Linked DNA regions of Homo sapiens: all the other regions are linked to region 2. The links are contacts of gene promoters, found by promoter capture Hi-C in human tissues and cell types (Jung and others, 2019). All regions are on one chromosome and are shown on one strand. The core of a region is centred on a gene start or on the middle of the fragment in contact, and the rest is flanking DNA. Distances in the headings are between cores, read along the strand shown.

Evidence for each region. Contacts are between HindIII fragments. The study calls those that stand out against the background at their distance.
Region 1: a contact is called between a fragment that was not itself captured here and the fragment with the promoter of SSBP2 in region 2, in 1 of the 25 tissues and cell types used here (dorsolateral prefrontal cortex).
Region 3: a contact is called between a fragment that was not itself captured here and the fragment with the promoter of SSBP2 in region 2, in 1 of the 25 tissues and cell types used here (dorsolateral prefrontal cortex).

The regions. Positions count from the first base shown.
Region 1 is chr5:82,080,503-82,083,295 of GRCh38, forward strand. The region is part of intron 3 of ATG10 (autophagy related 10); the gene reads left to right. Among named protein-coding and RNA genes, the nearest start is that of ATG10, 110 kb to the left of the region's middle. The HindIII fragment of the contact is 3,849 bases long and covers 1-2,793 here.
Region 2 is chr5:81,749,839-81,752,538 of GRCh38, forward strand. SSBP2 (single stranded DNA binding protein 2) reads right to left here and starts at 1,259. Exons shown (of 17, transcript NM_001256732.3): 1 at 1,143-1,259. The coding sequence starts at 1,204. RefSeq lists silencers at 121-280, 501-550, 991-1,040, 1,211-1,540, 1,811-2,160. The HindIII fragment of the contact is 20,998 bases long and covers 1-2,700 here.
Region 3 is chr5:81,444,321-81,447,140 of GRCh38, forward strand. It overlaps SSBP2 (single stranded DNA binding protein 2), which reads right to left. Exons shown (of 17, transcript NM_001256732.3): 12 at 2,548-2,602. Among named protein-coding and RNA genes, the nearest start is that of ACOT12, 52 kb to the left of the region's middle. The HindIII fragment of the contact is 3,574 bases long and covers 1-2,820 here.

The sequences.
Region 1 (2,793 bases), core at 235-2,734, 330 kb after region 2:
ATTTAAGTCTTTAATTCATCTTGAATTACTTTTTGTATAAGGTGTAAGGAAGGGATCCACTTTCAGCTTTCCATATATGGCTAGCCAGTTTTCCCAGCACCATTTATTAAATAGGAAATCCTTTCCCCATTGCTTGTTTTTCTCAGGTTTGTCAAAGATCAGATGGTTGTAGATGTGTGGCATTATTTCTGAGGGCTCTATTCTGTTCCATTGGTCTATATCTCTGTTTTGGTACCAGTACCATGCTGTTTTGGTTACTGTAGCCTTGTAGTATAGTTTGAAGTCAGGTAGCATGATGCCTTCAGCTTTGTCCTTTTGGCTTAGGATTGTCTTGGCAGTGTGGGCTCTTTTTTGTTCCGTATGAACTTTAAGGTAGTTTTTTCCAATTCTGTGAAGAAAGTCATTGGTAGCTTGATGGGGATGGCACTGAATCTATAAATTACCTTGGGCAGTATGGCCATTGTCACAATATTGATTCTTCCTGTCCATGAGCATGGAGTGTTCTTCCACTTGTTTGTGTCCTCTCTTACTTCCTTGAGCAGTGGTTTGTAGTTCTCCTTGAAGAGGTCCTTCACATCCCTTGTAAGTTGGATTCCTAGGTATTTTATTCTCTTTGAAGCAATTGTGAATGGGAGTTCACTCATGATTTGGCTGATTGTCTGTTGTTGGTGTATAAGAATGCTTGTGATTTTTGCACATTGATTTTGTATCCTGAGACTTTGCTGAAGTTGCTTATCAGCTTAAGGAGATTTTGGGCTGAGATGATGAGGTTTTCTAAATATACAATCATGTTATCTGCAAACAGGGACAATTTGACTTCCTCTTTTCCTAATTGAATACCCTTTATTTCTTTCTCTTGCCTGATTGCCCTGGCCAGAACTTCCAACACTGTGTTGAATAGGAGTGGTGAGAGAGGGCATCCCTGTCTTGTGCCAGTTTTCAAAGGGAATGCTTCCAGTTTTTGCCCATCCAGTATGATATTGGCTGTGGGTTTGTCATAAATAGCTCTTATTATTTTGCAATATGTCCCATGAATACCTAATTTATTGAGAGTTTTTAGCATGAAGGCTGTTGAATTTTGTCAAAGGCCTTTTCTGCATCTATTGAGATAATCATGTGGTTTTTGTCTTTGGTTCTGTTTATATGCTGGATTACGTTTATTGATTTGCGTATGTTGAACCAGCCTTACATACCAGGGATGAAACCCACTTGATCATGGTGGATAAGCTTTTGGATGTGCTGCTGGATTCGGTTTGCCAGTATTTTATTAAGGATTTTTGCATCGATGTTCATCAGGGATATTGGTCTAAAATTCTCTTTTTTTGTTGTGTCTCTGCCAGGCCTTGGTATCAGGATGATGTTGGCCTCATAAAATGAGTTAGGGAGGATTCTGTCTTTTTCTGTTGATTGGAATAGTTTCAGAAGGAATGGTACCAGTTCCTCCTTGTACCTCTGGTAGAATTCAGCTGTGAATCCATCTGGTCCTGGACTTGGAAACTTCTGTTTTTAAAACCATCAGGTCTCATGAGACTCTTTCATTATCACAAGAACAGTGCAGGAAAGACCTGCCTCCATAATTCAGTTACCTTCCACTGGGTTCCTCCCATGACACATGGGAATTGTGGGAGTTACAATTCCAGATGAGATTTGGGGGGGGGGACACAGCCAAACCATTTCAGCAATCATTCAGTTTTCTTGATAGACTTTAGCTCCTGCCCTCTAAACATCTGTCATATGAAGATAAAAGGGTAAAATCAGACTGGCTTTTTTCCTAGACACCTTGGCCACAATGATTTATAACAATTCATATATTCTGGAGTTCAGTGTGAGAAAGTTGTTGAAATATGAGAAGAGTAATTCAGAAATACCTAAACACCTACTTTCTTATATCTTCAAAATTTGTTAAACCCAGAAATATCTCAGTAAATAGGCACTTAGGCTCAGTTTCTTTTTCTTTCAATTACTTGATTAACGTAATGTCTCATGGGCAGCTTCATTTTAAAGACCCTCTTGAGAGTCTTTGAACTTGGTTAATTTATTCTAAATCCTTCTTATATTTTGTGGCTGATGGACTTTGAGATTTTTTTCCCTTTTTAAAGTATACTACAAATACATTGACACTAAAACAAATTCTCAGACATTTATCCAACTGTTAGTAATGTTTCTTTTTTTTTTTAACTGAACTAAAATGGTTAGAAATTCATTCACTTTCATGAAATAGAAACCATATCAGGAAATATGGAAGACTGGTGTTTTAGTAAATAGAGATATATTTATAATTTTTCCAGATAATTCCAATCATGGTTGTCTTAGAAACTATGTTTGTAAACTAGATAAACAACTATAGTAGAAAATTAAAAAATACTGGGGGGAAGGTTCCAACATGGCCGAATAGGAGCAGCTCCATTCTGCAGCTCCCAGCGTGAGCGACACAGAAGATGGGTGATTTCTGCATTTCCAACTGAGGTACCGGGTTCATCTCACTGGGGCTTGTCAGACAGTGGGTGCAGCCCATGGAGCAGGGCGAGGCATCGCCTCACCCGGGAAGCACAAGGGGTTGGGGAATTCCCTTTCCTAGCAAAGGGAAGCTGTGACAGATGGTACCTGGAAAAATGGGAGACTCCAACCCTAATACTGTGCTTTTCCAAGGGTCTTAGCAAACGGCACACCAGGAGATTATATCCTGTGCCTGGCTCGTAGAATCCCACCCCTACGGAGCCTCACTCACTGCTAGCACAGTAGTCTGAGATCAAACTGCAAGGCAGCAGTGAGGCTGGGGGAGGGGCATCCACC
Region 2 (2,700 bases), core at 9-2,508:
CGCCTCTTGGGCTCCCACCGAAGTTAACACCTGTATCTCCCCACAACTGTAACCAAGCGGCTCCTTCCCACCTGAACGCTTCTCCCCTCCCACAAACCCCTTTTCGGACCACTGGCCCTCCCCGCCACAGCTGCCCTCCTCGGGCGCCCCCGGCGGCTCCCACAACTCCCCTCCGCGCGCCCCCGACCACCGCCCCGCCGGGCCCGCCCCTCCCGCCGCTCGGGGGCTGCCAGCCTCACAAAAAGTTCGCCAGCCGCCGCCGCGGAGTTGGGTCCGCTGCGAGAGGCAGAAACGCCAGCCTCCTCCAGCGGATCCCGCTCCTCGCCAACACACTTTAGCTCCCCGGGAACTCGGTCCCTCTCCGACTCCCAAACTTCGGCGGCGTCTCCGGCGCCCACCCGCCCCCGCCCCCGCCCCAGCCCCAGCCCCAGCCCCGCGATGCGCGGGGGACTGCGGGCGCCGCGTCCGTAGCTGGCCCAGGAAAGCCCGGACGCCCAACCCGCACACGCCCTCCGCGCCCCGCGCGCGTCTCCGCGCCCCGCGGGGCCCCGCTCGGCCGCTCCACGCCCGGCTTCCGCCCGCCGCGCGCCCGGCACCGCCGCCCTCGCCTCGCCTCGCCCCGCGCTCGCGGCCCTAAGCCCCAGCGCCCAGGCCCCCGCCGCCGCGCTCCCCGCGCTGCCCGCCCCGACCCCGGCCCCGACCCCGGCCGGCCCGCCAAACACCCACATTCCCACTGCGCGCCTTCCTCCACGCAGCTGCCCCTCCCGCCACCCCCGGCGGCTCCCCAGGTCCCCGGAGCCCCGGACCCCAGCTCTAAAGTTACTTTGGAAGGTGAACCCGCGGGTTATTTCCCTCAATCACCCAAACAAGTTTCCATCCTCGCCACCAGCACCACCGCCGCCCCTCAACACACCCGGTCCCTCCCGCCGACAGCCCCCTGCGGCCGCCCGCCCAGCGCCCGCACCTCCCGGGAAAGCGCAGCTCCCCGCACCACACGCCCCCATCGCGGCACCCCTCCCCCTGCCAGCCCACCCCCGGCGCTCCCCGGGCGGAGAGTGTCTGTGTCTCCCAGAGTGTGCGAGTGCGTGCGTGAGTGTGCGCGCGTGTGAAGGCGGAGGTGGGTGAGAAGCGGAGACACTTACTTCTCCCGGGCCTGGCTGTCGGACGGGACGGCGCTGCTGTTACTCTTGCCTTTGCCGTACATGCTTGTGCCGAGAGCAGCTCCCACTGTCACGCACCTGTCAACCCATCACAGCCTCCCCGGGAACAGCCCCGTCCCCATGGCGACCCACGCAGCCACCCCCACTATTGGCCGCCCCACGCCAAAGCTCCGCCCCCTTCGCCCAGGCAACGCGCGAGACTGACAGGCCTCCCCCTCCCTCTGGCCTTCCGAAGCGCGCGGTGGCGGCTAAGCCTCAGCGGCAGTCTCCTCCCTCCTTCCCTCCCTCCCCGACTCCCTCCCTCCCGCCTTCCCTCTCCGCTCTCCTCCCTCCACCCGCTCTCCTTCCCCCTCCCCCCTCCGAACCCGGGCGCAAGGGGGGAATTAGAAACTGCTCTAGAAGGATTTTAAACAACTGGCTGTTCTCTCCGCCGCCACCCCTCCCCCCGCGCCGCCCGCGCTCAGCTCCTCACTGGAGAGAAGGCGCCGGGAGGAGGAGAAACTGCGGCCTGGAGTCTCCGGCCGGAGCCGGCGGAGCTGGAGCCGTGGCGGCCCCAGACTTCGGGGCGCCCGCCGAGTCCACGACAGAGCCACGGCCTCAGCCGCCCTGGGGCCCCCACCAGCCCCTCTCCCGCTCCTCTCCTATGCGTGACCCCGCGCCGGTACCCACGATTGATTTTTGCGGTCCTCAGCCCTACTCCCTGGGGTGTCGCCCCCGCCCTGTTCCCAGAGGGCCGGCTGGCGAGGGACACCCGCGCGGTTCCCTCGACCTTCTGGCTGAGCGACCGACAGCGACTCGCCTTCTCTCCTGGGGAAAGGCTGCACCTCCGGCCCTCGGCGCCGCTGCGGTGGCGGCGCCCGGGGCCGCGCCCTGCGCCCCAGGGGAGCACCCGGCCTGGGGTCGGCCTCCTCTGTAAGAGGTGAGCGGACCTCCCGAGGAGGCCCGGTGACTCCTGCGGCCGCAGCGGCCCCTGCCCCAACCCCTTCTTGCACGGAGCCCCGCGGCGCCCTGGACACCCCGCCAGATCTGCCGCAGAAGAGGGCCCCAGGCTTCCCCACCCGGCCTGGTTTAACAGTTTGGGTCAGTGATGCCTATTCATCCTGACCCCTGGAGTGGAAAAGGCCAGAAAAGGTCTTGAAAGACTTCCCTGTCCTTGCCCGTTAGAATAGGCCCCAGCGCGCTCCAAGGTGTACAAAGCTGTGCCAGGGCTGAAAGGCTGCCCGAGAATGTTTCTGTATCCAAATCCCTAATCCCATTTCAGTAAACGCGCAAAAGTTTCAGAAACACACACAATCTGGTTCCCAGTAGAACTCTGCATCATTTATCTTATTGAAGTCCTTGACTGTAAAATCAGACGGGTGCAAATGGGGTTAGAAAGAAGATGGGCTTCACACGGGGAAGAAGGGGACAGATGGGGTGGGACAGGGCGACATCTGGAAAGGATGAATAGACAAGAAGTAGCTATGGGAGGAGAGGGAAATCGGATTCGCGTGGAGGAAGGTACCGTTCTATTCCACACACACACAGCTTTAAGCATTTA
Region 3 (2,820 bases), core at 233-2,732, 310 kb before region 2:
CCTCCAAACACCTTCTCAATCTCTATGCACTGAAATTCTACTCACTATCGAAGGGCTATCTCAAATGTTATGTCTTCCATGAGGTTTTTTCCTGGCAGTTCCAAGTGCATGAGTGCTCCCCTCCCACTGAGTTCTGCCTTCCATTATAGGAATACTTTACTGCTTTATTCGTTCCTCCTGCTTCCAACTAGGACATAATAAGCTCATGGAGAGAAGGAAAGGACCGTGTCTTACTCATCTTGTGTACTAAAGACAATAAGTACTGCTAACTTAGATTTAACTGTTGGAATAAACTCAATCACACACAAGATTAACTTTAAAAAATCTTGGATTGCTTTTTAAACATAGGAAATCTTCAAATGGTTTTTCAACTGTATTGGCCTTACTCTTGGTAAAAGGAAGATGGGCTACATATTTTAAATGTGCACAAAGAAAAGAAATTTATCATTTTAAAGACTAATCAAGAATATAATTTCATCTGCTACAGAAAAAATTTGAGAGAGATAAGATTGGTATTTATGGCCAGGCGAGGTGGCTCACACCTGTAATCCCAGCACTTTGGGAGGCCAAGGCAGGTGAATCACTTGAGGTTAGGAGTTCCAGACCAGCCTTGCCAACATGGTGAAACCCCGTCTCTACTAAAAATACAAAAATTAGCCGGGCATGGTGGCACACTCCTGTAATCCCAGCTACTCGGGAGGCTGCAGCAGGAGAATTGCTTGAATCCAGGAGGCTGAGCTTGCAGCGAGCTGAGATTGTGCCACTGCACTCCAGCCTGGGTGACAGAGGCTCTGTCTCAGCAAAGAAAAAAAAAATTTTATATATATATATATATATATATATATATATATATATATGTATGTATTTACTGGAAAATGTCTGACTTCTATGTACAGAAAAACTTTACAATAAAGTGGATCTCCTGGGACCTCCTTTCTTGTGGGTGGGGTGCTGGCTGAGTATTAGAGGAGTGACTGTGACACAGGATGAACACATAAAAGAGTATGCAAAAAGACTAGGAAGATGTACTTGTGGCAATTTCTGGTTTGAAAGGAAGATTACTTATTGCCTGCAATGTTCAGTGTTGCTCCAAAAACTTTTTTTTAGTCTTGCAGTGAAGCATTTATTATTCACATGCTACCTTCATAAATTAAACATTAACTTCACCATATAAGAACATAAATATGGGCAAGATGATCAGTTGATATAATTCTATCTTCGATGAATTGTATCATTTTCAATGAAGATGCCTTCAGGACACAGACCATTAAATATCCAAGGAGTTAGTGAAGCAAAGTAAAATTTTGTATTAATTATCAAGTTTATGATTTTTCTAAATTGAAAGGGCTCAAAATTAAAAATTTTTATTGGTATGATCAATGATACTGAATTTCAAGCTTCTATCTTAATTTCAACAAGCCAGTTAAAAACATATGAGTTTAACAGTAAAACATCATAATCAAAAATACTTTATAATTATTAAAATTTCCCATCTACTTAATCATCCCAAAGTAATAACTGATAGAGTTTTAGCCTATTTCTTTGTTTTCTACTTTCTAGATTTGTGTTACGGTTTCAAATGAAACTGTGATTATATTGCATTGAATCATGAGATTTTATTTTTCCATGTCATTACAAATTCTTTGATAATAATTATAATGGCTCTATTATATTCTAACCTACACCTTAAACATTAATTTACTAATTCCACTAAAATTGAATTAGGCATGAGTTTGTGTCTACTGTTTTACTCTTGAGTATAACAAATGAGCATCCTTCTACATAAATCTTGGGTTGTATCTCTGTCATTTCTAGTATTAGAAGTATAGAGTCACATGGTATGAACCTTTTCATGGCTCTTGACACATTTTATCATAGCATTTTCTAAGAAGGGTGCGCCAATTTAGTCTTCCACTGTTAACAACCCCAAGACACATTTAATAGTCTGTGTGAAAGTCTCAAAAATAAATGATAAAACTATTTAAAGTAATTATATAAAAGGATTATGAAAACATTGAAGTATGTTTTAGTTTAGAAGATAAAAAACTTTTATTATTACATAGTGAATTTATAAGCTGACTAATAAATACTTATAGACATGTAGGGTAAATAATACTGTAAGTACTTCTTCATCCTTCATTCATCTTAGTAAGATAATAGATGTGGTGAGTCTGATTTGGCATTTTAAACCTAATGAATCCATGTATTTAATGTTTTATTTATTCAGAAATTTTCTAAATTGTAGAAGATTTGGTTAGTTTTATCAGTCTCAATAAATCTTTAAGTTAGACACATTTTTGGGCAATTCATATAGATCAACAGTGTTCATCCTAATTAAATCTGACACCCACACCATAGGAATTTTCTAAATGCTTAACTGGATAATACTTATTTAAGAACACTATATTTCTTCCTACCATGCTGCCTCTACTCCTTTAACTATCGTGAGAACATGAATACTACTAACTTTATTTCATGAACAATTTCTATATTCTGTGATTTTATTCTAATAATCAAATGCCCATGTGGCTAGTTTGATTACAATACCTGCTGGACTAGGCATGATGGGTGTTCCTGGTGGCCCTCCACCTCCTGGAGGACCCTAAATAATTATACAAAATTTCAGTAAAAATAAGGCATTGCATAAGAAAAAACAGAAGTTAGACTTATATCTATAATAATCCAATTTGAAAATAAGAGCAGAAATATATTTTCTCTAATTTATTTTCTTTGACTGCACAATCATTTCAATATTCTACAAAACATAATTTAGCTTAAATATGTTGAGACTGTTTTGACAAATTTCCAAAAACAATGAGC